6 separate regions of the Homo sapiens genome follow, and regions 1, 2, 3, 5 and 6 are each linked to region 4. Evidence: promoter capture Hi-C in 16 types of primary human blood cells and fetal thymus (Javierre and others, 2016). All regions are on one chromosome and are shown on one strand. The core of a region is centred on a gene start or on the middle of the fragment in contact, and the rest is flanking DNA. Distances in the headings are between cores, read along the strand shown.

What was found. The method cuts DNA at HindIII sites, captures the fragments that hold promoters and counts their contacts. A CHiCAGO score of 5 or more calls a contact.
Region 1: a fragment that was not itself captured here is called in contact with the fragment with the promoter of LONRF1 in region 4 in 1 of 17 cell types (naive CD8 T cells); the score reaches 8.8 in naive CD8 T cells.
Region 2: a contact is called between a fragment that was not itself captured here and the fragment with the promoter of LONRF1 in region 4, in 1 of 17 cell types (monocytes). The highest score is 5.7, in monocytes.
Region 3: the fragment with the promoter of PPP1R3B here is called in contact with the fragment with the promoter of LONRF1 in region 4 in 1 of 17 cell types (naive CD8 T cells); the score reaches 5.1 in naive CD8 T cells.
Region 5: a contact is called between a fragment that was not itself captured here and the fragment with the promoter of LONRF1 in region 4, in 1 of 17 cell types (naive CD8 T cells). The highest score is 6.5, in naive CD8 T cells.
Region 6: a fragment that was not itself captured here is called in contact with the fragment with the promoter of LONRF1 in region 4 in 1 of 17 cell types (naive CD8 T cells); the score reaches 6.9 in naive CD8 T cells.

Annotation. Positions count from the first base shown.
Region 1 is chr8:9,546,123-9,551,258 of GRCh38, forward strand. No RefSeq gene overlaps it. Among named protein-coding and RNA genes, the nearest start is that of TNKS, 7.2 kb to the right of the region's middle. The HindIII fragment of the contact is 524 bases long and covers 3,567-4,090 here.
Region 2 is chr8:8,991,371-8,995,981 of GRCh38, forward strand. The region is part of intron 2 of LOC105379227 (a long non-coding RNA gene); the gene reads right to left. Among named protein-coding and RNA genes, the nearest start is that of ERI1, 9.2 kb to the right of the region's middle. The HindIII fragment of the contact is 6,566 bases long and covers 1-4,611 here.
Region 3 is chr8:9,148,691-9,153,788 of GRCh38, forward strand. It overlaps PPP1R3B (protein phosphatase 1 regulatory subunit 3B), which reads right to left and starts at 1,968. Exons shown (of 2, transcript NM_024607.4): 1 at 1,873-1,968. It overlaps PPP1R3B-DT (PPP1R3B divergent transcript), which reads left to right and starts at 3,035. Exons shown (of 5, transcript NR_183348.1): 1 at 3,035-3,226. RefSeq lists enhancers at 1,368-2,316, 2,363-2,602 and silencers at 1,953-2,222, 2,723-2,972. The HindIII fragment of the contact is 22,346 bases long and covers 1-5,098 here.
Region 4 is chr8:12,754,264-12,759,322 of GRCh38, forward strand. LONRF1 (LON peptidase N-terminal domain and ring finger 1) reads right to left here and starts at 1,263. Exons shown (of 12, transcript NM_152271.5): 1 at 437-1,263. The coding sequence starts at 1,157. RefSeq lists silencers at 42-581, 478-668, 672-1,011, 1,092-1,761 and enhancers at 737-1,556, 3,210-3,269. The HindIII fragment of the contact is 11,195 bases long and covers 1-5,059 here.
Region 5 is chr8:8,871,073-8,876,023 of GRCh38, forward strand. All of the region lies in intron 1 of MFHAS1 (multifunctional ROCO family signaling regulator 1), which reads right to left. Among named protein-coding and RNA genes, the nearest start is that of MFHAS1, 20 kb to the right of the region's middle. The HindIII fragment of the contact is 1,846 bases long and covers 2,577-4,422 here.
Region 6 is chr8:9,007,534-9,012,409 of GRCh38, forward strand. ERI1 (exoribonuclease 1) reads left to right here. Exons shown (of 7, transcript NM_153332.4): 2 at 437-615; 3 at 4,009-4,219. Among named protein-coding and RNA genes, the nearest start is that of ERI1, 7.1 kb to the left of the region's middle. The HindIII fragment of the contact is 3,993 bases long and covers 603-4,595 here.

The sequences.
Region 1 (5,136 bases), core at 2,579-5,078, 3.2 Mb before region 4:
GCCCATCTTTTGGTGAGCATTCACATGGTGCACGAATGTCTTCAGGTTTTTTTTGCCTATCCAGAGAAGCCTATTGTATTAGTTTGTTTTCACACTGCTGTAAAGAACTGCTGGAGACTGGGTAATTTACATAGGAAAGAGGTTTAATTGACTCACAGTTCAGCATGGCTGGGCGACTTTAGGAAATTTACCATCATGGCAGAAGGTGAAGAGGAAGCAAGGCACCTTCTTCACAAGGTGGCAGGAAGGAGGAGTGCCAAGTGAAGAGGGAAAGAGCTCCTTATAAAACCAGCAGCTCTCATGAGAACTCACTATAATGAGAACAGCATGGGGGAAACCATCCCCATGACTCAATTACCTCCATTTAGTCTCTCCCTTGACACATGGGGATTATAATTCAAGATGAGATTTGGGTGGGGACACAAAGCCTTACCATATCACTGTCTATATGCCAGAGTTCTGGCAGGGCATGGTGGTTCCAACCTGTAATCACAGTACTGTGGGAGGCTGAGGCAGGCAGATTGTTTGAGGTCAGGGGTTTGAGACCAGCCTGACCAACATGGTGAAACCACCCCGTATTACAAATACAAAATTTAGCCAGGCGTGGTGGAGCATGCCTGTAGTCCCAGCTACTCCAGAGGCTGAGGTGGGAGAATCACTTGAACTTGGGAGGCGGAGGTGGCAGTGAGCCGAGATTGCACAACTGCATTCCAACCTGGGCGACAGAGGGAGACTCCATCTCAGAACAAAACAAAACAAAACAAAACAAAACAAAGCAAAACAAAAAGAATATACCAGCCTTCATTGTCATTAATTTTTCAACTAGTTCCTTCTAAGGCTCTAACTATTCAGACAAACCATTGGCCACAGCTCATGAATTGGTATGTAACTACACATTTGGCCATTTCTCCTTCCAAGCAAAATGAACAACCAGATTTACTGTCGGAAATTCAACTCTCTGGGAGGATATCCCTTCACTAATGGCCTTCAGGGCTGTCCCAGAGAGGGGCTGCAGTGCTGCAACTGTCCATTTTCAGATAGTGCCTGCATATCCTGAAGAAACATCTATAAACCGGACTCAAATGTTCTCCTCCTCAACTGATTTTAGGGAGCACCCCATGATGCCAAAAATTTGGGCTGGGAGAGAGAAAATAATGTAGGAAAAGTGAGAGCTATGGGCACTTGGGCCATTTCCTCATTTAACTTACTTGTGCCCTCAGGGCCTGTTGAGCCTAATCTCATAACTGTCACTTCCATTTGATGATGGAGTATTGCTGTGGATGCACAACTTCATGGCTTGGCGGGTCAGACAATACTCAGCTCATGATGGGCAGTGCAGGTCTCATGGTAACTTGGTGATCATGGGTAGGTGTTCAGTCTCTAGTACTGAAAGCCTAATAGCAAGCAAATTTCTCGAAAGGAGAGTAGTTATCCACAGAGGATGGCAGGGCTTTGCTCCAAAATCCCAAGCAGCTGCACTGTGATTCACCTAGAGGGGCCTGCCAAAGGTGCAAACAGCATCCCGCTCTGCCACTGACACCTCAAGCGCCATTATATCTGCTGGATCACACAGCCCATGTGGCAGAGCACCTTGCATGACAGCCTGCATCTGTTGCAGAGCCTTCTCTTGCTCTGGACCCAAAACTAGCAGCTTTTGGGGGTTACTCAGTAAATAGGCTGGAGTCACACATTCTATTGAGGAATATGTTGCCCCCAAAATCCTCAGAGTTTCACTAAAAGGGTTCGACTCTTTTTGAGTTGAAGAAAGGGACATATGCAACTTTTCCTTCATGTTACAAGAGATATCTTGACATGCTCCACAACCCTGGACCCCTAGAAACTTCACTGGGGTAGAAGTCTCCACATTTTTGTTGGACTCACTTCTCACCCTCTATTATTATGTAAATGTTTTACCAATGACTCTAGCATAGTTGCTACTTCTTGCTCACTAGATCTAATCGGCATAATGTCATCATCAATGTAATGGACCAGTGTGATGTCTTGTGGAAGAAAAAGGTGGTCAGAGTCCTAGTGGATTAAATTATCCACAGGGACAGCATTGACCCTATTACAGCTCTCTGACTGGATATGGTGCTTTATCATCTGCTTTGTCTTTCCATGTGCTAAACCAACCCAAATTTGCCCCCTAGAACAGGCATCTCTCTCCTCTTCATATAAGGCATGCCATGGCATCTCATTGTAGTAGTCTGAATAGTGGGCCCTTGAATATGTCCACATCCTCACCCCTGAAACCCATAAACGCTACCTTATATGGCAAAAGGGACTTTGTAGATGTGATTAAGGATTTTGAGATGGGACATTATCCTGGATTATCTGGGTGGGTCCAATGTCACCGTCATTTTTGGAGACAGGGTCTCACTCTGTCGCCCAGGCTGGAGTCCAGCTGCGTGATCTTGGCTCACTGCAGCATCTACTTCCCCAGGCTCAGGTGATCCTCCCATGTCAGCCTCCCAAGTAGCTGGAACTGCAGGGGTGCACCACCATGCCTGGCTAATTTTTGTATTTTTCAGGACACAGGATTTCGCCATGTTGCCCAGGCTGGTCTCAAACTCCTGGGCTCAAGTGATGCTCTCACCTTGGCCTCTCACAGTGCTGGGATTACAGGCGTGGGCCCACCACGCCTGACCACAATGGTCCTTTTAAGAGTGCAGTAGGAGTAGGGAGAGTCAAACAGAAGATGATGGGATGGAACCAGAGATGAGTGATGTGCTTTTAGGACGTAGGAAAAGGTCACAAGCCAAAGACTACAGGCAGCCACTAGAAGCTGAAAAAGTCAAGGAAAGAGATTCTCCCCTCAAAGCTCTCAGAAGAAAATTCTCCCCAAAGTCCTCATAAGATGCCAACATTGCCGATGCCTTGACTTTAGCCCAGTGAAACTGATTCCAAACTTCTGCCCCAGAACCGTAGGAGAATACATTTGTATTGTACCGTTTCAAGGCACTAAGTCTGTGGTCATTTGTTATAGCAGCTATAGGGGACTAGTATACCCAGCCTCTTAACTGAGTAAAGCCAGAAAGATGTACATGAACAAAAGGAACGATGGAGAATAATTGCCCTCTGGTAATACCAAGTGGCAGAAACTATGCCACTTCAGTCTATTGTCCTGTATAAAAATAGGCTGATGGCTTCATATCACCTGATTTTCCAAAGAGGGCATGTATTAGTTTTCTTTTGCTGCTGTAACAAATTATCACAAACATAGTAGCTTAACACAAATATATTTTACAGTTCTGCAGTCATAAATCTGGCATTGGTACCATTGGGCTAAAATCAAGGTGTTAGCAGGATTGAGTTATTTTCTGGGGGCTCTAGGGAAGAATCTGTTTCCTTTTCTTTTGCAACTTCCAGAGACTGCTCACATTCCTTGGCTTGTGGATTCTTCCATCACCTTCAAAGCCAGCACTGACTGGTTGAGTCTTCACATGGTATTACTTTCAACCTCCTTCTGTGTCTCCCTTTTGTACCTATAAGGATGCTGATGATTACATTAGGCCCACTCACATAATCCAGGAAAGTCTCCCTGTTCTAAAGTCTGTTGATTAGCAAGCTTAAATTCCATCTTCGATGTTCATTCCACTTTGCCACATAAAGTAACATATCTGCAGCTTCCAGAGATTTGGACTTGAGTATCTTTGAGGTGCCATTATTCTGCCCACCTTAAATGTGGATATAAAAATACATTGTAGATTGCTGTATTATCTGTAGTCTTTGATTTTTTTAGGTTTTCTGTTTTTTCTCTCATGTTGTTGGCCCTCTCTCATGTGTGGTGATTCAAGGTTGTAAATTCATCTTCTGTGGGATGTTCCTTCTGCAAACATCCTGGACCACACTGACTTCAGGAATTATGGCTGTGTTGGTTTCTCTTGAGGTGGTCTTGGCAGCTGTGGTGGTTTTCCACACAACAGAGATGGTTTCTCAGCACTGCAGGGAGGAATATGTTTGAGAGAAACCTGCCTACCTCAGGCTGAGGTGCCTTCCTTTGTAGAGTTTCTATCTCTCCTAAATCCTGACCACAGCCAGAAGGGACTATTTGCATTTCCCTTAATATAAGAGTCCCTTTTCATTTCCAAGCTTATTAGACCTTCCTTTAAGACACTGTAAAGCAAAAGCAGCAGCATGCATGGGAAGCCAAATAACAACAATATTGAGTAAAAGGAGACCTGCTTGTTGTTGGGCAGACAAGACTAGTGTCTCTTAGGTGACCTTTATACAAAGTATATCCCATCCCTGTTCTTGATAACAATAAAAGCTGACACTTACATTCCATTTATCACATGCCAGAAACTGTTTATTGCACTTGGCATATATTAACTTACTAATTTCTCAGAACAACTATTAATGTCTCTACTTCGTGTCTCTACTTTGCAGGTGAGTTTACAAAGAGGTTGTGTTAGTTTGTTCTCACACTGCTACACGGACATACCAGAGACTGGGTAATGTATAAAGGAAAGAGGTTTAATTGACTCACCGTTCCACAGGGCTGGGGAGGCCTCAGGAAACCTACAATGATGGCAGAAGGGGAAGCAAACATGTCCTTCTTCACATGGTGGCAGCAAGGAGAAATGCAGAGCAAAATGGGGAAACGCCCCTTATAAAACCATCAGATCTCATGAGAACGCACTCATTATCATGAGAACAGCATGAGGGTAACCATCCCCATGACTAAATTACCTTCTACGAGGTCCCTCCCATGACATGTGGGGACTGGGGAACTATAATTCAAGATGAGATTTGAGTGGGGACACAGCCAAACCATACCAGAGGTTAAATGACTTATCCTGGATTGTACAGTATTTTTTTCTGAGCAACTCAGCATCAAAAGACCTAGGTTCAGGATATGGAGGAATAGGTAATACCAAGAGAAGTTACACACATACACCACTTAAACAGCTTTCATTCATTTCCTTCTTTCAACAAGCCAAGTAACAACAGCAAGCAAGTAAAAGGAGATAGTGGGTGGAAGGCACATACCACATGTTTGGGGATTGATTAATGCCTCTCACTGCCTGGGCTGCCACTCATTCTCAGCCGGTATTTCTGATGGTCTCTGCTGGCAGATGTCTTTGCCCCAATCTTTGCCATTGGTTGGAGTCACCTCACGGTCAGTATGTGGTA
Region 2 (4,611 bases), core at 240-2,739, 3.8 Mb before region 4:
ACAGCATACTAGGAATGATAAAGCTACAAGACAGAAAAGCCCTAAGTCCTCGACATCTTTCTATTAACCTCAGAGAGAAATATGTTAACTTCTACCTCACTGAAGCCACATATATTTAAGGCCTATTTTATTCCCAATCAAATTTTAATTGTATTTTTTCCTCTTTATTTTTTGTAGAGATGGAGTCTCACTATGATGTCCGGGCTGGTCTCAAACTCTTGGCTTCAAGTTATCCTCTCGCCTCAGCCTCCCAAAGTGCTGGGATTACAGGTGTGAACCATTGCCACTGGTCTTTTCTTCTTTTTTTCAAATCTTTATCCTAAACAAAAGAAAACATGCCAAGAAAGGAGGCAGATTCCACAAAGGGTGAGATGTAACAAAATCTGGGAGTTTGGGGGGAAAATCCTGGAGGAAGGGAAATTGAATCTCTGACCTAAACAATGAATGAAATTAGCTAACAAAAGTTCTGAAATGGGAACCGGCATGGTGTGTGGAGGTACTAAAAGAAGAATGGAAAGAGAAAAAAGGTAGTTTGTGCTAAATCAGGAGACAAAAATATAACACAGATCATCCTGAAGGCATTAAGGAAGGAAAAGATTTAAAAAAGTCAAAAGTGATGCCCATATTTTTGGCCCAATCAACTGCGTGGATTGTAGAGCTATTTACTGAGAAAAGAAACACCATTCTGGGCATGGTGGTTCACGCCTGTAATCCCAATACCTTGGGAGATCGAAGTGGGAGGATTGCTTCAGTCCAGGAGCTGGAGACCAGCCTGGGCAATATGGCAAAACCCTGCCTCTACTAAAAAATACAAAAATCAGCCGGGTGTGGTGGTGAGCGGTTGTAGTCCCAGCTAGTCGGGAGGCTGAGGTAGGAGGGTCACTTGAGCAATCATTGCGCTACTGCACTTCCAGCCTGGGCGACAGAGGGACATCCTGCCTCAAACAAACAAACAAAAAAAAACAAAAAGAAAAAAGAAAAACAGAAACACTAGAGAAGTGGCTGGTTTGGGGAGGAAGATGATGATTTCACCTTGGATATGTCAAGTTTGTGGTGTTTGTGAATAGGCAAGTCGTTATGTGGCTCTGGTGCTCTGAGTTAAGATCGTGGGTAGAAACAGGTTTTGGAGTCATTGGCTACTGGATGGTAAATAAAGCTAGATGAATGCATAGAATACCTAGAGCAAGAATCTATACTTTGAAAAGAATATAAAAGTTATGAACAGGGCCTAAGATCCAAGTCCTGAAGGAATTCCGGAATTAAATGATTGGATATAAGAGGGGGAACTGATCAGGGAGATTGAGAAGAAATGGCCAGAGAAAAAGGAAGGAAGCAGGCGAGTGTGCTGTCATGGAGACCAAAGGAAAAGAGTGTTGCAGTAAATAAAGAATAGTCAGCCGGGCGTGGTGGCTCACGCCTGTAACCCAAGCACTTTGGGAGGCTGAGGTGGGCGGTTCACGAGGTCAGGAGATGGAGACCATCCTGGCTAACTAGGTGAAACCCCGTCTCTACTAAAAAATACAAAAAATTAGCCAGGCGTGGTGGTGGGCGCCTGTAGTCCGAGCTACTTGGGAGGCTGAGGCAGGAGAATAGCGTGAACCCGGGAGGCGGAGCTTGCAGTGAGCCGAGATAGCGCCACTGCACTCCAGCCTGGGCGACAGAGCAAGACTCCGTCTCAAAAAACAAAAACAAACAAAGAAAGTTAGCAACGCTGGATGCTGTTGAAGGATCAAGTCAGATGAGCTTTGATAAGAGGCTACTGGGTTCAACCACACGGGGATAACTAGTGACCTCAGTGGAGAAGTAGATGTCAGTGGACCATGGGGGTGGAAGAGAAATTAGGGTAGGTTGAATAGTGGGTAGATGTGTGAAAAAAGCGACAATTCTTTCAAGAAGTTTAGCACCAAAGGGGGCGGGAGAAAAGATAGTGCGGCAGCCATAGGAATTCTGAGGTTGAAGGAGGTGTTTTGTTTGGCTGGAGGGCTATTTAAGTTGGAAAATTTTGAGTCAAGCTCATTTAAATGCCAAAGGGAAAGGTCTACTGATGAGGAAAACACTGAAGATACAGAACAGAGATTGGATAATACAAAATTCAAGATTGCTGGGAAGGTAGGAGAGGAGGGGAATTGAGGGAGCGAGTGGTGGTATCAAACCAGAAAATGAAGGTGGGAGGGAGGAGTGGCTGAAAGGGGCGGGGCTAGGACTCAGGTGGGGCGGGGCTAGGACTCAGGTGAGGCGTCGGAGGCACTCACTTTAGGCACAAAATTTAAGGAGGCATCCCCCCAAAATCAGTAATTAAGATAAACACTTTAGTGTAATTTTTTTTTTTGAGACAGCATCTTGCTCTGTCGCCCAGGCTGGAGTGCAGGGGTGCGATCTCAGCTCACTGCAACGTCTGCCTCCCAGGTTCAAGCGATTCTTGTGCCTCAGTCTCCCAAGTAGCTGGGATTACAAGCATGCTCCACCATGCCAGCTAATTTTTGTATTTTTAGTAGAGAAGGAATTTCGCCATCTTGGCCAGGCTGGTCCGAAACCCCTGGCCTTTAGCGATCCTCCCGCCTCGGCCTCCCAAAGTGCTAGGATTACAGGCATCAATCTCTTAGTACATCAAAATTAATGTAAGAAATGTATGATGAACAAAAATCAACATAATAAACAAAGACACGACCAGATGTGAGCATGTAGACTTGGCAGTAAAAAGCTAAAACTGTTTTCTTTGTGAAGCAGGAGGCAAGGTTGTCTGGTGAGAGTACATGGGAAAGGAGATGGAAGGTTGGAGGTGAGAGCAAAGAAGGTTTGCTGCAGAAGTTGTGGAGAGAGGGAAGACAAGACAAGGAGAGAAATATGACGGCTGCCAAGGAGGATTAGCACCCAGGTGGAGCAGGTGGTCATTAATTCTTCACATCACTGATCTGGCCATTGTATGATCTCTAAGGCCTCTCTCAGAACTCAGAGAAAGCATGAAGAAGGAAAATAGATTTATGATCATGGCGGGTTTTCGCAGGGAAAAAGGTTGGGATGTTGGCAAGGGATTTATGATAGTGAACCACAGAAGCTATGAGAAGTTATGATAAGGGGCTGTTGAAACTAAGCCAGCGAGGTAATAAGCCAAAACATGAGAAATAAACTAAATCAAATGTGAAATGATAGCTCTGCAATAGAATGTAAATGCCAAATGTAATGGGGTGAGTTGTGTCCCCCTAAATTTATGTGTTGAAGACCTAACCCCCAGTACCTCAGAATGTACCCATATTTAGAGTGAGAAATAAAAATAAAATCCTAAATCCCCTAAGGCCACGTGTGGCAGCTCACACCTGTGATCTTAGCACTTTCGGAGGCCAAGGCAGGCGGATCACCTGAGGTCAGGCATTTGAGACCAGCCTGGGCAACATGGCCAAACCTACCTCTACTAAAAATACAAAAAAAATTACCTAGGCTTGGTGGTACACACCTGTAATCCCAGCTACTCAGGAGGCAGAGGCAGGAGAATTGTTTGAACCCGGGAGGTGAAGGTTGCTGTGAGCCAAGATTGTGCAACTGCACTCCAGCCTGGGTGACAAAGTGAGGCTCTGTCTCAAAAAAAAATAAAATAAAAATAAAAAAAAAATTCCTAAACCCCCCAAACTTCTGAATGGACCCCATTCCAGCCAAGAAGACCCCAGAGAAACCTTAAAACAGAGTTCCAGGTCATCTCAGGACAGGAGGTCAGACATGCCTCAGTCTGCCCCTTCCTTATTAACCTTTAACCAGAATCTTTCCTAAGAAGTAAACAGGAATCAGCTGTGGAAGACAAGAGCCGATGACTTACTCTATTATCACTATTAGCCAATTGTCTGAGGCCATGACGAGACTTCCCTTCCCTCTTTACAGTTTCGACATGACAGCTCGCCAGTTTCACAATGCATACCTTCCTTATCAGAGACCGTTGATGATGGAGATGCTCTGGCCAGTCTATAGAGAATGCACAGAGGATTTTCGGTCCTCTGCTTCACCTTCTGATGTCAGAAGGCTGAAAACTCCACACTCAGATTATGCTAATGCTGCCATTTGTGTACATGTGACCCATGAAGAGGTATGAAGCTCAAGTGCACATGCATGCTTCTCCTTTCATAAACATTAATGATTCCTCCTATTACTTATTAAATATGTATATTTGGCCACTATGCTCAGCATACATTCCTGTCTTATGCTTCCTTCCCTTAAGGTGCCTATTTCTGGCTTCTGGCTGGAGGCTACACTTCCCAGCCTATCAGAATGGCAGCCTGCAAGGATGCATAACCCCAACCCTTTATGAGAAATAAAGCTCTCTTTTCTATACTTATGAACCTTGTCATTCTTCAGTTGGCAGGAGATTAGGTCTTTAAAGAAGTGATTAAATTAAAATGAGGTGGCCGGCATGGTGGTTCACGCCTGTAATCCCAGCACTTTGGGATGCCAAGGCAGGTGGATCACCTGAGGTCAGGAGTTCAAGACCAGCCTAGCCAACATGGTGAAACCCCATCTCTACTAAAAATACAAAAAATTATGTTTTTTATTATAGAAAAAAAGGAGAATCCTCACCTAGATCTATTACAATGAAATTTAAGAACATCAATGACAAAAAGAAAATTT
Region 3 (5,098 bases), core at 718-3,217, 3.6 Mb before region 4:
CAAGACAGCTGGCCAAGGTTAGACGGCCATGGTGATAACTATAGACCTGCACAGAAAATAACCCTATGACCTTCACGGTTTCAGGCAGCTGAACTACTGACTTTCTGGCTGTACCTTTCATAGGGAGGAAATCTTTTTTGTATCAGGGCCACGACATTATCCCCTCCATTCTCTTATTCTCTCTCTCTCTTTCTTCTGGTAAGAAAAGACAAAAAGGCCGGGCGTGGTGGCTCACGCCTGTAATCCCAGCACTTTGGGAGGCCGAGGCGGGCGGATCACGAGATCAGGAGATCGAGACCATCCTGGCGAACACGGTGAAACCCCGTCTCTACTAAAAATACAAAAAAAAAAAATTAGCCGGGCGTGGCGGCGGGCGCCTGTAGTCCCAGCTACTCAGGAGGCCGAGGCAGGAGAATGGCGCGAACCCGGGAGGCGGAGCTTGCAGTGAGCCGAGATGGCGCCACTGCAGTCCAGCCTGGGCGACAGAGCGAAACTACGTCTCAAAAAAAAAAAAAAAAGGCAAAAAAAGGCCGGGCGTGGTGGCTCACGCCTGTAATCCCAGCACTTTGGGAGGCCGAGGCGGGCAGATCACGAGGTCAGGAGATCGACACCATCCTGGCTAACACGGTGAAACCCCGTCTCTACTAAAAATACAAATAAAAATTAGCTGGGCGTGGTGGCGGGCGCCTGTAGTCCCAGCTACTCAGGAGGCCGAGGCAGGAGAATGGCGTGAACCCGGGAGGCGGAGCTTACAATGAGCCAGAGATGGCGCCACTGCACTCCAGCCTGGGCGACAGAGCGACACTCCGTCTCAAAACAAACAAACAAAACCAAACAAACAAAAAAATCAGATGCACAAGCAACCCACCAGGAACACTGAAAGCTGCCGAACTGCATTCAGTAAACATTCACAACCAGGTTATAATTTTCATTTTTAAAGACATGGCCATCTACCTCCCTCCAACAATTCTGTGTTCCCTTCCAAAAGGTTTCACTGATCCAGCATGAAGAGAGTGCATGTCTTTCCCCTTTGTACTCAGACCATGGGGGCCTATTCACAGCCTTAAAGGCTCCTTGTACCCCTTGATCCTGTCCCCATCATCCAAAGCATCTTGGAGACTGACATTTGTGAATACAGTTGCATATTCTAGGAAAGAGGCAAGTTCAAATGACACAGCCCCTGCCGTCTAAAAACGTACGAGGGAAAACAGAGTACTAGGCTAAGAATGCCCGCACCTTGCTTTGCTACTTGAGCGAGTCACTCAGCTGCTCTGGGCTTGAGGTCCCCTCCAAGGTCCCTGCTGGCCCTGACATTGTATGTTGCGACCCACCCCTGGTGCCGCTTCTCTTCCCACTAACTTTTTTTCCTAAATACCTCAACTGTACTTTTGTGTAAGTCCTCCAGCTGTCTTCACTTTAGTTTTGGCTCCTGGACAACTCTGCCCAAGGAAACATTTCCTCCTCTCCTCCTCTTCCTCCCAGACCAAAGCTCTAATTGTCTCTTCTGCTGCACCCTGGGTCTCCCAGGCAGGCCCCCGCCACTCAGACCACAGGTTCCAACACCTTCCAAGTCTCCAAGTTCCCAAGTCCAGTCTTTCCTCTGTTTTCTCCTCTTTTTCAGAAAACAGTGCTCTGACAGGCCCCAAATCTTCCAGTAAGTCATTACCGGCCCCCACTCCCTCTTTTGCAGCTACTGTGCCTTCCACACCCCTTTTTCTGGATTCCAAAGAGACGCAGGAGCAGGCCAGTGCTCTCCAGGCTGGAGGATCCCACAAGTTACTCTCCGACTCTGTCCCCTCCGTCCAGTTTGACCAGGGCTGCACTCCGCCCCCAACCTCCCTACAAGCCTCCTTGGCCTCGCGCCGCACCCACCTTTTGGGCCGCGGAGAAGCCCCCTCCCCAGCTCGCTCGCCGCATCGGAGAGCCCGCAGGGTTGTGGCAAGCGCGACTACGTGAGCGTCGGTGTGTCCGGGAGGCAGGGCCTGGGCTGGGTTCCCGGAGATGTCGGCGGTGGGAGGAAGACGACGAGGAGGAGGAGCCCGTTATCGCACCCGGGCGGGGCCGGCAAAGGGGCAACCCCGGCCGGAGCAAGCAGCGCGACACCAGCACCCCCGCGCGGCCGCCTGGCCTCCGCCAGCCCGGGACGGGGATCGTGCTAGGTCCCGTCGCCCTCGGTGGCCTGAGAGCCTACCAAGTGTATTTCCTCGCGTTTTATAGGGAAAATAAGGCCCGGAGAGAGACGAAGCGGCTTGTCCTTAAGCTCCAAACCCCACTACCCAACTTTGGAGAAGTCTCCAGACCTCTCGGGACCCGGGGCTGGGAACTTGTGCTAGTTTCGAAGCCAGAACAACAGGTGGTAAAGGGATCAGCCGCCGCAGCCGCAGCTCCCGGGTCACGGTCGCAGCCGGGCCCAGCAGCGCGGTGGAGCACGTGGGCCCGGGAGGCGCTTCCCAGCTGCGGTCCCTGGATCGCCCTCTCCACGCTGAAGCAACAGCTCCCTGGGGCCAGCTACCTAGAGTGTTCCAGCCCCGGTGTGCCAGTGCAAGTCGCACGGTGAAAATGTAGGTGACAGGAACCCAAAGAGGTCCCCGCTGCACGCCCTCGCCTTGTTGTCCCCAGCCCTTCCCTCGGACTCGAGACTTGGGGAGCTACGTACCGGGTTCAGCTCATAAGTCCCGAGGGCAGACGCGCCAGCCCGCGGCAGCATACGCCCTGGGGGAACAGGGACAGCTGCCGTGACGGCAGGAGCTGGGCCCGGGCTCGGGTTCGCGCCCCCCGCGGGCGGCGAAGTCCGTCCGTGCACGAGAGCTGCGCGGTCACCTCCTCCCTCCAGCAGTCACCCGGGACTCGAGCTCCCCGCGGCCGCGCTGCCCCCTTTAACTTTCCTGCCAGCTCTCGGGACCCCGGGGTCCATCCCAGGCCCCCTGCCACGTGAACGCCCCCCGCAGCCAATGGGCGCGCCCGGGACTCCAGCCGCCGACCAATGGGCGCGCAGCCACGGCGCTGGGGAGCACCGCTTCGCCACGTGATCGGCAGCGCGCCCGGAGTGATCCGGCTGCGGGCCAGGGTCTGGGAAGGGGGTGGTGGGTCGCCGTTTCATCAGAAGCCGGAGGACGGGCGCCAGGGGGCAACTTCCTACAGGAGGGCGTCCCGTTAGAATGACAGGGCTTTTGCAAAAGTCTGACACCCGTGGCACAGAGCGCCCCAGATATGGAGGGTTTCACAGGTAGGTATACTTCAGAAGAAATTTCCTGACTTGAATCGGTTATAATCGCTATCTAAATCTACAGGGCCTCCGCGATGCATATTATGCACCTTGAGATCTATAGAAAATGGTCTTAGAAAAAGAAAAAAATGATGACCTTAAAGAGTTTGAATCAGAGGCTCTTCCTTTCTTCAGTTTACATGTAACTTGATCTGAACTAGCCACTTTAGGCATGAGGCTACCAGTTTTCTAATTTTAATGACCAGTAGAGTTTTAGAAAAAAATTAGAAATTGATATAGGATTGCCAACTTTTTAAACTGCCAAGAAAGACATGAAAATAAACCCTGCTGTCTTCTATTACTATCCTTTTATTTTTATTTTTTAAAGTACACTTTAATAGCAATAACAACGAAATGCAGGAAGGATGTAATGGCCAGTCTTTCCCATTGGATATATTTAGCTTTCTGAAAACTCATTATGTTGAATATGGCATTTGGGAGTTTCTACTGTAAGGGATACAGGCTCAGCTTCAATTTTACTAGGAATGCAAGCCTAAAACAGTGATCGGTGACAATAATCCAATACAAGCCTTTAGCTCTATAGAGAGCTTCCCCGGAGGGAGTCCTGGTGTCTGAAGAATGATCATTAATCTTCTTCCTTCTTTTCTGATGGGCAGATCTGATAAGGGACCACTTGTGAAGTCAGCTATTGGTAGGTGGTTGGCAAATAGCGTTTCTGTGCAATATTCCCTCTGCCAACTTTAAACCCTCTCTTGTTAGGTGATGAGTAGGTTGAAGATTTTTAAGCCAAGTACTGGCTAAGTTTCTCAGGTGTAGTGAGCATGCTGGAGGAGTGGGCAAAGATGAAGAGCCAAGAGGTATTGCAAAACATATGCAGGCAAAGGGTAATCCGAACCACACCGGGAAAGAGTTGGGACAAGTAAATACAGCTTTGTAGCATTAGGGTTTGGGAGCATTTTTCTTGCATAGATCTAGGAAACCATGGTCAATAATTTCCCCTGTGGTTTAGATGACTTTTTCAGACCAGGAGAGAGGGGTTAAACTTAGTTGTGGTACACCACAGCCTTAGTAGGTAGGAGGGTGTCATCTATGAGTTTGAAAAGAGCACAGTCTTTGCCATCAGGATAGAGCTGAGATGCAAGCTCAGAGGAGGGCTTTACCAGGAGACCCAGCAGTGCAGAGCTCCAGAGCCTGAGAGCTGGACCCACCCTCAGACACGATCTTGCCTCACCCTCTCATTTTATGGCAACAAAGAGAGAAAGTGAAAATGGAAAATTTCAATGCTTACTGCATCAGTCAATGCACACCAAGTTCTTTCTATTATATCTGGCATTGGGTTACAGCTTTAATTTTATTTAACAACCCTCCTCCCCCAACCAAAAAAAAAAAAAAAAATGAAACCAGAAAACAGCAGTGGCTAAGCATAGTAAATTATTATTCTTCCATAAACTGTTCTTTTTCTTTTTTTTTAATTTATTTATTTATTTTTTTAATTTATTTATTTTTTATTGATAATTCTTGGGTGTTTCTCACAGAGGGGGATTTGGCAGGGTCATAGGACAATAGTGGAGGGAAGGTCAGCAGATAAACAAGTGAACAAAGGTCTCTGGTTTTCCTAGGCAGAGGACCCTGCGGCCTTCCGCAGTGTTTGTGTCCCTGGGTACTTGAGATTAGGGAGTGGCGATGACTCTTAACGAGCATGCTGCCTTCAAGCATCTGTTTAACAAAGCACATCTTGCACCGCCCTTAATCCATTTAACCCTGAGTGGACACAGCACATGTTTCAGAGAGCACAGGGTTGGGGGTAAGGTCACAGATCAACAGGATCCCACGGCAGAAGAAGTTTTCTTAGTACAGAACAAAATGAGAAGT
Region 4 (5,059 bases), core at 13-2,512:
CCCGGCAGTCGTTTCCCCGCGGCGGGCCCGGCCCGAGAGCCAATTCCCGGAAAGCGCGCGGCAGGAAGCGAGCGGCCGCTCGGGATAGCCCAGCTACCACCCATCCCGCGCCGGGGCGGCCTCGGTCCAGGTCACCCACTCCGCGCCGGGAGCGCGCGCCCGACAGCCAGGCCGCGGCCGAGGGAACCCCGCGCCGAGCGCCCCTCCCCGCGCCGCGTCACAGTCGGCTCCCAGGGCGATCCCCATTATGACCGAAGCACCCCGGGGCGCCGCCCCCTCCCACACCCCCCAGCACCCCGAGACCCGACACGCCAGCGGCCCAGCGGCCCCGGGGAAGCAGAGGAGACTCTCGGGGCGCAGACAAGCTCCGGGTCCCCGGCCCTCGGGGCCAGGAGGGTGCGGTCGGCCCGGCCCCGCCGCATCCCCGCGCGGTCACCTGCTCGCAGCGCCTCGCAGGCGGCGGCCAGGGCCTCCCGGTAGCGCCCCTGGTGCAGTAGCTCCCCGAGCCTGCCGGCCGCCCGGGCCCGCTCGCGCTGGCCCGGAAACCACTTCTCGGCCAGGTGGTTGAGGACGACGCTGGTTCTGAAGTCTGAAGCGGCGATGGCGGCGGCCAGAGGCGGCGGCCGCGGGGCGGTCCCTTCAGCATCAGTGGCACTGGCGGTGGCGGGCGGCAGCCGGTCCCGGCAGAGGCGGCAGCGGGCGCGGAGTTCCCTCCGCAGGCAGCGGCGGCAGTAGCTGTGGCCACAGGGCACGGTCACCGGCTCGCTCAGGAAGCCCCGGCAGCCCAGGCATCTGAGGAGCCCGCCGGCGCCGCCGTCAGCGCCTGCAACCGGGGCCGCGCTCCAGCCCAGCCCGTGGCGGAGCCGGTAGTTGAACACCAGGCAGTCCACCAGGGCGCCCAGGCACTCGGGCCTGGCCGGGGCCCCGCGGCGCAGCGCCGCCGCGAACGCCTCCAGCGCGCCCTTCAGGTGGCCGCCCAGCGCCAGCAGCTCCCCGCGGCGGAGCAGCAGCTCCCAGCGCTCCGACTCCGCGGCCGCGCGCTCCAGCCGATGGCCGCTGCCGCCGCCCACTTCCCAGAACCGGCCTCGGCCCTGCGGCGCTGGGGCCATCTCCCGACTCCCTCCTGGGGAGGTCCTCGCCACCGCCGGAGAGGACATGGCCCGCGGAGGGCTGCGCCGCCGCCGCCCGCCGCCACGGTCCCGGAGCCTCCCGGGCGCGCGGCTCCGCACGCGGCCCGCGAGCAGGGGGGCGTGGCGCGCGGACACGGCGGGGCTGCGCGCGCCCGGGAAGCCCCGAGGGCGGGGCCTGGCGAGGGCGGGGCCGGGCTCGGCGACGGCGCCCGGGACTCCCCCACGCCGCCCGCGGCCGCGCTCCCGAGGAGCCAAGCGCTGGGCCCCGCCCCTTCCGAGCCCCCTCCGGGTGGGGGACGCAGGTCGGATGATTCCTCCGTCGGAGATCTAATTGGCTTCTCCGGAAAGGAGGGCTCGGCTCGTGACGGAACAAAGCCGGAAGGACCCCGGAGCTTCAGTCCCCGCTTGCCTGTCTGCCAACGCCGCCACCTGCGGTGGCCCTCGCCCCTGCCGGGGGTTGGGGGACGCTCCCCTGCCGCGCGGGACTCCGGGTCACCACCCCTCCCCCGACGCCCCCGCCCAGGCCGGACCTGCCCCAACTCCTGGCGGGCGGGGGTCTCCCCGCGTGGCCTCGCGCTTGTGCGGGTCTGCATTTTCATAGCTCTACGCCCATGTTCCAGGTGGGCGCGCCCAAGCAGGGGGCCTGGGAGCGCACCTTCGGCAGATGACTGGGACTCTTCGGTTCTAGAGGACTCAACTTTAAATATGAACAAAAAACCCACGTTCCTGGGGCGACTCCCTCCAGAGGGCAAGGAGTTTTTCCTGGTGCCAGGTGACTGCTTGCCCGTCTTGCTTAAAACTCATCGTGGGCCCACCTCGAGGGAGAAAGCCCACAGCTTCCTCAGGTGTCTCCACACCTCAAGCACTGCCTTACAGCTGGTTAAGGTCTATATTTGGCAGTTTTAAAAGAAAACACCAAGAAACATGTTTCACATGGCGGTCACCGTATTACTACAACCCAAGCTGGCTCTGCAGTTTTGCTGACAGAAGAAAATGATCGGGTTGATATATAATGGGTGCTATTTCCCTTAAACTTCACAGCAGCAAGTTTAAAGCTCTCAGCTGAAAATACAGATTTGATGATAGGGTATTAGATCGCTAATGTTGGAAGTCACTTAGGACTTTTAGTCCTTTTTCAAATGATTGGAAACACAGGGAAAGTTATTTGTCAAAAATCACACAGCTAATACAGATTTTAAGATCACGTCTATTCCACTACTACTACGTTAGACTAATATGTAATATTTAATAAAATATGTAATATTTCATAGAAATATATGAGATTTTCAAAGTAAAAGAAGTTGCTAATTGGAAAGTTCACCTGAGCATGCTATGTATGAAATTGGTAAACGTTTAATATTTCTCTTTATAAGGAACAGGCAATTAAGGCTAAAAAATGTTTTGAGTTCATGTGTTTTCACTACACAATCAACAAGTCGTGTAACGTCAGAAAAGACAGAGTTATATTACCCTAAAGGGAATGAATAAAAAAGAGGTGCCTGAGAAAAAGCCAAGCCTCCTGTTCCAACAGGATGCAGACAGAAACAAGTTCATTTATCACTCACATTGCACCTGAAGCAAATTGCAGCTAGATCCAAGGAGCACCTCCTAAGCATTTGGCATGGGAAGCATTGGGATTAAGTCATGAGCATAACCTTAAATCCAATCCTAACCCCTAAATTACTACCTTAACAAGCAGAACAGTGACTTTCAGCTGATGTCCACATACTCCCTTGAGACTTGAAATCACAAACAAATATCCATGTGTACACGCACATTCATTTTTGTAACGCATCCTTGTTCTTAATGGCATGTTGCAAAATTTACAACAGTAAATATGTAATCAATGTGTTCATGTTTATTACAAGGAGCATAGTAAATTAATAAACACTCATAAACTTCTTTTCAAATATAAAGTCAGGTTCTATTATGGGATTTCTGCCAAAAGTACAATATGTGGTTCAGAAAATAATGTGAAGTATTATTTGTCCTTTGGAGTTCCTTTTCCTAATAAATATGACAACCACATCTGATTCTGATGTGAAATAAAATGGCACAATTATGATAATGTGCGGGAGAAAAAAATGGGACCGTAGGAGGAATCTTACCGTGTTCTCCTTGGCATTTGTGAATGGTTATAATTCATGTTTGCTGGTTTATGCATTTACATAACTTGTTCTCATTTATGTAACTTATTTATGTAAGAGGCTGTACTGCCGCTGTGGCCTTTGTGTGCTGCATAACTTCCCTTTGAATCAGGAAGTCTAGGCAAAGCAGTCACTGGCACTGTCACAGGTCACCCTTCCATCATTCTCTGCCATCCAAAAGTTGCACAATAATGTGACTGCTTGTTTAAATTCAAAGGCGAGAAAAATTAGTGTCCTTCTTCGTTCATTTCCTAAAATTTAGACAGGTCTCTGAGTCACCCAGCAGGCTGTGATGGAGAAGAGGGAATCCTGCTAAGCTGCCCCTGGCTAGGAGAAGTATAATGGAGTGAAGAGCTCTCCTTTTCCTTCCGCATTACTTGCTCGTGTCATTCTTTGCTAACAAAGTAGTAAAATCATGAGATTTGTATTCTGTTTCGGTTTTTGAGTGTTGTCTTCTAAAATAGATCAGTTATGTAAGAGAGTCAGAAGAAAAGCGTATCTGTTTCCTAATTTGGAAAATGCTTATCACCATCATTGCCTGCTTATCCCTGCCTCCCACTGCCACACCATAAGACTTTTCCTGATATAGTTTGGTAAACTCCTATTTAAGAGTAACATAACACAGTGCTTTTCTTATATACAACTCAGCTGAAGATGTGTATTTGAACCTCTTTTTTTTTTTTTTTTTTTTTTTTTTTTGCTGTGGGTGAATTTACCATTTGTTTCTTTACATTCTTATTAAAAAAGAAACTGAATTTGTCAGTCCAAGCAAAATATGTCCCATTCCTGATTCATTTCAGTTGATAATGTTCTATTCAAAGAGAGTAAACTATAACGTTTTATATAAACAGTACCTAGCCAATAGATTTTTTTTTTTTGACACAATCTAACTTTGTCACCCAGGCTGCAGTGCATAGTGAGTATATAGCTCACTGCAGCCTTGACCTCCTGGGCTCAAGCAATCTCCCACCTCAGCCTCTCCGAGTAGCTGGGACTACAGACGCATGCCTCTCTGCTCAGCAATTTTTTTTTTTTTTAACTTGTTGTAGAGGCGGGCCCCATTATGTTGCCCAGGCTGGTCTCAAACTCCGGGCCTCAAGCAATTCCCCTGCCTCAACCTCCTAATGGGCTGGGATTAGAGGCATAAACCACCACGCCTGGTCCCCAATAGCATTTTTGTACAGAATACACAGATGGAGGGGTCTCTAGAGACCACCTTTTCATACCCCTCTCTCTCTCTCTCTCTCTCTCTCTCTCTCTCTCTCTATATATATATATATATATATATATATATATATATATAAGAAAATTGGGATCTGAGAAGCTGCTAGTTTCATAGAAGTCATACCAGCGAGGGAATCCAGACACCTGGTGCTGACTCTATTTATGCCTCTATGCCAGGGAAGAAGTCACCTGGGTTCCCTAGGCCTCATTTGCTATCTGTAGAAAGAGGGAACTGCAACTACCTCTAAGGTGCCTTCTGCCTCTGGAGCCAAGCCCCAGGGCTTGGTTTGAACACAGTAAGAGGAGGCAGAGCATCTCCCAGACTGAGGAACACAGCAATGTGATACCTGCTGAAAATGTAACAGCAGATGAGGGCTGAGAATAGAAGAGAAGGGTATCAAGAACACATTTTGTTGGTACATACTCATCCCTGTTTAGAGAGGGGGAACCAGTTTCTGAGACCTGAACACCTGCAGTCACTGTACAGGGATCCCCTATTGCACTCACACCTCCTTGCCCCTACTGTAAAACTGTGGGAAGCTGAAAGAAAGCCGGGGG
Region 5 (4,951 bases), core at 2,250-4,749, 3.9 Mb before region 4:
CCTTCCTGAGAAGCAGCACAGGGTGACAGCAAAGACCATAGGTTCCTGAGGACAACCTGGGCTCTGCTACATGCTGTGTGCCCCTGGCCATATGACTTAGCCCTCCTCTGTCTCCACTCCTCATCTGTAAACCAGGATGATGGTAATCAGAGCTAATGTTTACTGAGCCCTTATTATATGGTAAAAACTACTTGCAGCTGGGCGTGATGGCTCACACCTGTAATCCCAGCACTCTGGGAGGCCGAGGGGGCTGGATCACTTGAGGTCGGGAGTTTGAGACCACCCTCGCCAACTTGGTGAAACCCAGTTTCTACTAAAAATACAAAAATTAGCTGGGCATGGTGGCACATGCCTGTAATCCCTGCTACTCATGACAATGAGGCACAAGAATCATTTGAACCAGGGAGGTGGAGGTTGCAGTGAGCCAAGATCACTCCACTGCACTCCAGCCTGGGCAACAGAGTGATCACAAACACGCAAACAAAGAAAAAACTACTTGGGGACTTGACATCTATTCATTCATTTCCCCCTCACAACATCTAAGGAGACTCTGATAGCAGGTGTAAATGCTTGGGAACTGTTAGAATTATTTTTACCTATTTACAGACGAAATTGAGGCCCAGGGAGGCCAAGTGGCTTCCCAGAGGTCCAGGCCCCCGACTTCCTAATCCACTGATTTAATTACATCCAAGGCTCAGATGCATGGGCTCAGATGTATGAATGGCATTCAAGAAGTGCCTGGGAGAGGTTAACATACTGCTGATAAAAGATGCAAGGCCTCTTTCTCTAATGCTGGTTTAATATAAAGCAAGTAAGCTGCATGGCAATATTCATCTCTAGCTACAGCTAAGGTGACACTTGTTCTGTCACCCTACCTAGGAAACCGTATCAACTCCCTGAGATGAAAATCTGCCCCATTCCAGAAATGAGCTAAATCAAAGGAGGGAGAAGGAAGGAAGAGGAGGCTAAGGCAAAAAGTTATTCACACTTTGCATAAACATGCCCGGATGGCAAGCATTATAAAACGATCTGTGTAACATAAGCTTCTGGGTCCATGGGAGGCAAGGGAGCATGTGACTGTGCACGGATATGAACAAAGCCAGCGACACACCACCAGATTCTTCAAAAGCAAATATTTGTCTATGACCAAAGAATCGGGATTCTTTTCTAACAAAGAGGAATGTACACCGTTCTAATTCCTGATTCTTCCTCCTGCTTTACAGTGGGTTATGATCTCGATGGAAATCCCCCCATGAATAAATGTGTCTGCAATCACAAATGGCCCCATAAATCAGAAGATTTATGAACTGTAAAAGGGGACGGCAGGAGGATTCCAACCTTGCAGCTTCCTTCATGCGGACCACCTGGGGCCGGATGCATGGCAGTTTATCACTTCCTGGAAACAGTCATCTGGCTTTTCTTTTTAGCTAAGCAAGAAAATGTTATCAGCCCTGGTAATCAACAAGATGCAATCATCCCTGCTATTTGGGTAAGCTTTTAATGCCGCACCACATTACACAGAGGAGGCTCAGATGCATAGGCTCGGATGCATGAACAGCATTCAAGAAGTGTCTGGGAGAGGTTAACACACAGCTGATAAGCTCTGGCTGGCTGCAGTGAGGCCTGGCCCAACAGCCCCTAAGGCAAATTCCTGAAGGGACTAAATAGAAAATGAGTGGATATTCCCTATTCCAAGGGAAAAAATAAAAATAAAAAAAAAGATGGGAACAATACAGTAACCAGGGAAAAGCACAGAGCATGCACATGTGTGTTTTTCTTGGGGAGGGGGAAATGCATATATTTCAGAGGCTTAACAAATACATTCAAAAGAACACCTGCTCCATCCCAGACAGGCAGCAGAACATCGTGCAAGAGTGAGACGGAGACAACCGGGCAGTGCCACTCGTGAGCCATCTGGGAGTGAGGGGTGTCAGGGAAGGGGACAGATGCACCCTACAGGGCTTTGCATCCCAGTTCTTATTACTGTACCTTGGGCACAAAACAGCCCAGCTCTAGGCAAGCCAGTGAGCCATTTTTGGTATCATAGTGTTCTTTTGGAAAATTCACATTTCTATTTTTAGTTCTTCCACATGCAATTCATAAGCAATAGCCCTCCGGAATCAAAGTCACCTCAGCTATGCCATGAGTCAAGAGAATCCCAGTGAATATATTTTTTAATAGCATGTTCAGGGAAAATGTGACCAGCTCTGTTCGGCCATACTGTCTGCATTGACTTGGCAGTTAGCATGAAATGAAGGATTTTAAAGACCAAACACTTCAATGAGTCCTGTGAAAAAAACTCCCAAGAACCTGACTGGGGACTTTGTTAGCTTGAAATAAATATATACGTCATTAAGTATGTTTTAAACACAGAAGCAACTATAACAGGATTTAATTGCTTACTTTTTTTTTTTTTTTTTACAGGTCAAACACATTTTAGAGTGCTGGGTTACACCCACTCTTTCTTCATCACATGTACAGAAAGGCAAAGAGTGTGGGTAATCTCTTAAATTTTAAATTCCCACTTGGTATGAGGATAAAACATCCAAGAAACATTTCCTGTGCAGAACACACCAAGCTTAGGTGTAGAAAATACAACGGTGTGGAACTCGAGAGGATGGTTCTAGGATACAAATAAAAACAACCACGCAGCGCGGGAAGATTTTTGTTTAGAAAACAGATGGGACAGAAAGGCAGATGCAATGTTTTGAGTCAATGAGATACAGTTCGTTCTTAATTATATTTCATTGATTTCTTACATGGACAGAACATCATTCTTGCTGCCACTGTTTTATTTTGATCAGCGGTATATCTATCTGTAAACATGTACAATTTGTAATTATTGCTATGTCTAAACACTGCATCACGTGTAATGGCTGAATTAAGCTGTGAAATGCGTAATTATGCTGAAAACAATGGTGTTCCAATACACATCACCAAAGCCAATTTAAAAAAATTACCTTGTTTCAAATCACAAAGCGAAGCCTTCATAACCCTCGAGGCTTTTTTTAGGTCCCACCACTTTGATTTAGAGATTTGTCTTTTTCTAATTGCATCTCAAGAGTGTTCCGAGCACAGAGAGGGATTATTAACCCTGAAGGAAATAAAACTGAGTATTTCTTACACCTCTGGAAGGTGGAGAACGTACTTAGTTTAACAATCTGGAAAGGATCAAAGGTCTGCCGGTATAGGTGTGACTGAACAATACATCCATTGGTAGACTACTATGCTATATTTGTAGGATATACTATAACATTCTACACACACACACACACACACACACACACACACACACACACACATAATAATCTTCTATAACAGGGTTCTAACTGTTCATATGGAGGCATCTCAAAAATATATTTTGAAGTGATCAAATGCGAGGTGCAGAACAAGGAGTACAGCATGATCTCATTCCTGTTAAAATATATGCAAATACATGCTTTATTTTCCCTGGAAGAAATCAGCAAGAAACATTTTACAGAGGAGACAGTTTGGGGAGGGGTTATGAAAAAGGGGGCTTTGCTAATGAATCTACCATCCACATATGGATAGCACTTTTTTTATTTTCAGTTAAAGTTATAAGGGTGAAGAATCACTATGTGATTCCCGCTGTCACCTCTGTATTTAGAAAAATGTTATGAGGTTTTTTTAAGCTCTAGAAGAAATCACAGAGGAAGCTATTAATATACTGAATGAAATTTGAAACTTCAAAACGTTAAAGGTTTTTAAAGCAAAGAGGGGAACAAGCTAGAAAAAAATGCCTTAAGTATGATAGACAAAAGGTTATCTTTTATATATGAAGAGTTAATATAAACTGATAAAACACTGTGATTAAAAAAAAAAAAAGAAAAACCACCAAGATGATGCCAGAAGATGTTATTAGAGGATTCAGAAAAGAAGCAACACAATTAGGCAACATTTATACAAGAAAACGTTCACATCCACTAGTTAAAATCTTCAGTCACCAGTGACATATTGTTTCCATTAAACGGTAGTGCATTTTATAGATGATACCCAATGTTGAGGAGGTACAGTGAAAAAGATCTTGCATCTGACGTGCCCATCCTCATGGGAAGCAACGTAAACGTGCATTGAGATTTAATGACATTTTTTGCCTTTGACTCAATGACTCTACTTCGGGGATTACTGCCCAAATAAAAAAGAGTTTTTATAAAGAAATACAGTCATCAGAGAATCACTCACAAAAAAAACTGGGAACAAGAGCACAAATGGTTGGATAAACAAAAAGAACACAAGGTTAAATAAACAAAGGTGAAAAATCACCTTGATGTACTATTATGCAAGCATTTTTAATTACTGTATAAATACTAATCACAGGAAATTATATCCATGTTAGCATAAGTTTAAAAAATCAATATTTGAATTATTTATACAATTATAACTACATATTTTTAAAACCTAAGCTTAAGGAGGAAACAAAGCTAAAAGACACAGAGCAAAATGTGTAGTGATTACTTTAGATACCCACCATGAGAAACTTTTTTTTCTTCTACTCTCCAAATTTTTTATGTTTTTTTGAGTCAGTCTCGCTCTGTCACCCAGGCTGGAGTACAGTGGCACGATCTCAGCTCACCGTAACCTCTGCCTCCTGGGTTCAAGCGATTCTCCTGCCTCAGCCTCCTGAGTAGCTGGGATTACAGGTGCGTGCCACCACGCTCAGCTAATTTTTGCAATTTTTTACTAGAGACGGGGTTTCACCATGTCAGACTGCTCTCGAACTCGTGACCTCGTGATCCGCCCGCCTCGGCCTCCCAAAGTGCTGGCATTACAGGTGTGAGCCACCATGCCCGGCCTATAAGTTTTTATAAAGGGGAAAAAGCATTTTTAAAAGAGCATAAGGTGTTCATATGAACAGAGATCATACTGTATTCCACCTCTTCTATGAAGAAAAGAGTTTTGATCCACAAACTTATCACTCTTCTAAAAGTAT
Region 6 (4,876 bases), core at 1,349-3,848, 3.7 Mb before region 4:
TAATCTCATTTAATCTTTGTAATAATTCTGCCCAAACACTATTTACCATTACCAAATTACCATTTTATAGATAAGGAAATTGAGGATCAGAGGCTAATACGTAGCTATCCAAAGTCATGCTGCTATTTCTAGTAAATAGTCAGCTGGGGTTCTCTATTGAGGTGGTGTTGACTCCCACCACCAGTCTTCTTTTTACTTAGCTTTGTTTCCTTTGAGGAACCTCATGACTCATAATAGAGTGGGGTAAATTGTATTGGAGACGCATCTTCCTTCTTATCCTTTCCTCCGTTTAGGAGCTGCAGTGAACACTTTTCATTGAACATGTAGCATGAAGAGGCTTCAGAAGTTTGAAAGTTTGAATCTTTAAATCTGTGATGTTTGTACTAATTATAAACTACATCCTTTTTTTTTTTTTTTTTTTTTTTTTTTTTGGTAGGAAACTCAACAGTGTAAATTTGATGGCCAGGAGACAAAAGGATCCAAGTTCATTACCTCCAGTGCGAGTGACTTCAGTGACCCGGTTTACAAAGAGATTGCCATTACGAATGGCTGTATTAATAGAATGAGTAAGGAAGAACTCAGAGCTAAGCTTTCAGAATTCAAGCTTGAAACTAGGTAATTAAAAATAACTTATAAAATTATAAAAGTAGTACATGCTCATTTTAGAAAATCTTGAAAACATTGAAATATTAAAAATCATCTGTAATCCTACCGTAATGACATGATCCTATTAACAGTTCACAAAAACTAATTAACATTTTTTATGTGCAACTCTGATTATTTTTGTCTGTCTTCTAGATGATAGGACTGCTGAATCAAAGTCAAATATTTTAATGACCTACCGGCAATGTATAGGAGTCTCTGTCTTATTATGACAAGAGTGTTTTAAATTTTTTTAGTTGCTCATTTAAATGATGGATAGTTATATTAGTGAGATAGAGTATTTTTTATTTTCTTTTTGCCATTTGTATCTTTTATAAAAAGAGTTTGTTTGAAATCAGGTACAATAAATTAAAAACATTCACTTAACAGGAATATTTTTTGTTTTAATTTCTAAAAAATAATCTACAATGATCGTTTGCATTATGTTTCACTGTATATTGAGTGAGAAAACAATGCAACTTAGTCAACTGTATGTGTATTTTAATGAGATATACACATACCTAAGTTTTTAGTAATTTTTTGCGAAACAAATCACTTTACGTTCATTGGGCCATGGGGCAGAAATGGCTTTTGGAGTCCAGAAAAATACATCGATTTTTGATAAACGGTAGAACTGCCAGGCATCAAGAAAAAAAATTGCCTGTATGAAATAGGTAAAAACTCTTCCTTTTTCAAGACATCTCTGAATCATAATTCTCTTAATAGTAGTATTCTTCCTCTTTAGAGTTTCACCACTCTTCAAAAGAGCACAAATTTATTAATTTCTAGATTGTCTACATCATAATGTATGAAGAAATTTTTGACTCCTATTTCCCCGATTCTTTCTGTTATGAAGGTACAACTTGTAGCCTACAGAAGATTTTCCGAGCAAAATTTTTGTCCTTCCCAGGTGTGAAGATCAGTTGCTTACTCCTGGCTTGCGTGGGAGCTAGCGATCTAGATGTATGTTTATACGTTTATTCAACAAGCCTGTATTGAATTCTAAGTACTGCACTAGGCATTGAAGTTATAAAGGTAAATACAGATATGTTCCCCACTTTGGCAATCTCAGTCTTTTGGGAAAACATACAAAGAAATCATCACAATACAGAGTGGCCAATGCTATATTGGAGGTCTGGCCAGGTACAGCATGAGAATACAGAGGAGAATATTTCTCAGGAATTCAGAAAGATGACATTTGAATTGTGCCAAACAGAAAAGGGAGGGGGAGGGTATTTCAGGCAAAAAAATAACAGAAACTTTTCTAATTCCAGTTTGTATGGTTTCTGCAACATGATCTTGCCTTTTCTTCACCTGTTGTGCAACCAAAGTTATAGGACATAAAAGTGTATTGAGAACATGCCTTTTATTTTTTATTTTTTTGAGACAGAGTCTTGCTCTGTCGCCAGGCTGGAGTGCAGTGGTGTGATCTCGGCTCACTGCAACCTCCGACTCCTGGATTCAAGCGATTCTCGTGCCTCAGCCTCCTGAGTAGCTCGGATTACAGGCATGCACCACCATGCCTGGCTAATTTTTGTATTTTTAGTGAAGATAGGGTTTCTCCATGTTGCCCAGGCTGGTCTCGAGCTCCAGCTCAAGTGATTCACCCCCCTCCCAAAGTGCTGAGATTATAGACGTGAGCCATCTGGCTGGTTGAGGCCATGGCTTATAGTATATTTTGTCTGCAGTACACAGTATACCTCAGGAACATGTGACAATGATAGTGAAATGATAGGTTGTAGCCAAGTTGTGAAGGAACTCTATGCTGAAGTCTGCATTTTACCTCGTAAGCAGAAGGGAGCCACTGAAGATATTTAAGCAGAAAATTGGTGTTAGTGCTCAGTTCTCAAGTAAAGTAAAGAATGAATCGAAGTGTTGTGGTAATGGAGGCATTTGCCATGCTCAACGAAGCTAATGAGAGCCATAGCAGAAAGAATTAGAGAGAATCATATTCTGAATATGTTTCTGAGTTAGAATTGACAAACATGGTGAATATTTGGAAGAGCAAAGGAGATGTTAAAGATAGCAGGTTTCTATCCAGAGCAACTAGTTGTATGTTTGTCCTGCCATTAGCTTTGCAGACAACTCTGGTAAATGTAGTCTCTCCCCCTATCACACCTCCCACCCCACAACAATAACAACCAATAAAAAGATAAAAAAAGAAAGTAATCCAAAGCTGTCACATGACACAGAGGTCACTCACAGTGCCTTAATATGAAAGAGGTTAAGGATTTTCTCCGTAGGTCTTGATAATTTTGAAAATCTCAAGCAAAGAAACAATATTAAGACATTTCATCTTAAAAAAGCTAACTGGTTGATTATTACTATTTTCATGGGTAGGATTTTTTTCAGTGCTTAATTGTATTTTAGAAAGGAAAATAAAAGACTAAAAAGGTTTTTTTTAAATAGTCATTAATCAGTTAACATGATACTTTACTTGGCACTACACATTAATTATAATTTAGATCTTTTTATTTTTACTTCCATTTCATATTTGCAGGCCAATATAGGATTCATTTATATAACGCTGAAGGAAGCCTGAATGCTGGTTGCAACTTAATTTTTTGGAAAAATACATATTGTTTAAAGAATGAAGTCACCTGATCACTGTTATCTGTTAGGATGACCTTTCTCTCCTCCCCACTACTCCATTTGTGGAATGTATATTTTAAAGCTACCTATAATATTGAAATCCCCTAAATCATATTCTACCCATGATAAATTAAGAAACTTATTTCTAGTTAAGAACCTACTAGTGTGATAATGCTCCTTTGGACAGTTTACTTAGAGTGTATTCTAATTGAGTTTTCCTTGTTAAGTAGCCAACAGACATTCACCTTTATATGCTAGGCTCATAATGCTTTCATATTCATATGAATCTTTTGAGTTGACTAACCTACAAAAGCCAAAAGAAAGGAAAGAGATAATACGATATTTTCAACTTAACCCAAATTTTTATATTCTTAAGTTTATATTTTGGCCAGTGGAATAATTTTATATTAATTTCAATGTTTGTATCATATATGTTATCTTAGTATATAAGGCAGTATGACGACTGTGTTGGTAGTATATGCTGACAGTGTTTATGGTTTGAAGTACCAGTATATGTTGGAGAAAATACTGTTATATACTACTAAAATAAAAAAAGACTTGTGAAGGAAAATGTTAATGTTGTAATAAACATATTATTTTAATTAGTTCTTTGCTAACTTAGCTTTGAGTCTTGCTTTTCTTACATTTATTTTAGCTAGCATTTGCTAAATTTCGCTGTGATTGTCAGTGTTCAGCCCAGTGCCAGCAGGTGAGAGTTTTGATTCTTGACTGTAGAATTTACCTAAGTGTAACTAGTCTTCTTCTTCTACTTAGAGGAGTAAAGGATGTTCTAAAGAAGAGACTGAAAAACTATTATAAGAAGCAGAAGCTGATGCTGAAAGAGAGCAATTTTGCTGACAGTTATTATGACTACATTTGTATTATTGACTTTGAAGCCACTTGTGAAGAAGGAAACCCACCTGAGTTTGTACATGAAATAATTGAATTTCCGGTTGTTTTACTGAATACGCATACTTTAGAAATAGTAAGTGAATTTTTGTATTTTAATTGTATTTCTAGCAGCAACTATTCTGGTGTTTACTGGTTATGTGGAGGACCTCATTTGCTTTTTAGCCAGAATTAGACTTCTAAAGTAAGTTTTTTCTTTGCCATGAACTTTATATCAGCTTGATTAATAGAAAAGCTGTAACAAAGCAATTTTAGAGACTACTGCTTTCTTTTTGCAGTAGCGGAAGTTAAAATGTTGTTTTCCATTTGCTTAGAACATCTGGGTGTGGACATCAGAATCTCCTGGTAAGTAAAAAAATAAAGAAAACACTAATGATACTGATGCCTGGCCCTAGTCCCAGAGATTCTAATTTAGTTCTCTGATAGGGCCTCTGACATCAGCATTTTTTTGAAGCTTTTCAGTTGGTTTTAATATGCGGTCAGGCTTGATAACCACCACTGTGGCCTAGTGTGAACTCTGATCTCTAAGAATGATAATTTACAAAAATGACTTTTGAACCTCTCTCTCTGGTGGAAAGTTTAAGGGTGAAATGACTCATATAACCCTGGTTTCTAAGCCAAATAATATGTGTGCTTTAGATACTTGTCAGTGCTTTATTAGTTAAGAAAGTCTAGTAGGAATTCCCTAAAATAATACTGTTTACCTTATAAAATCTGAGCAAGAATATCCTAA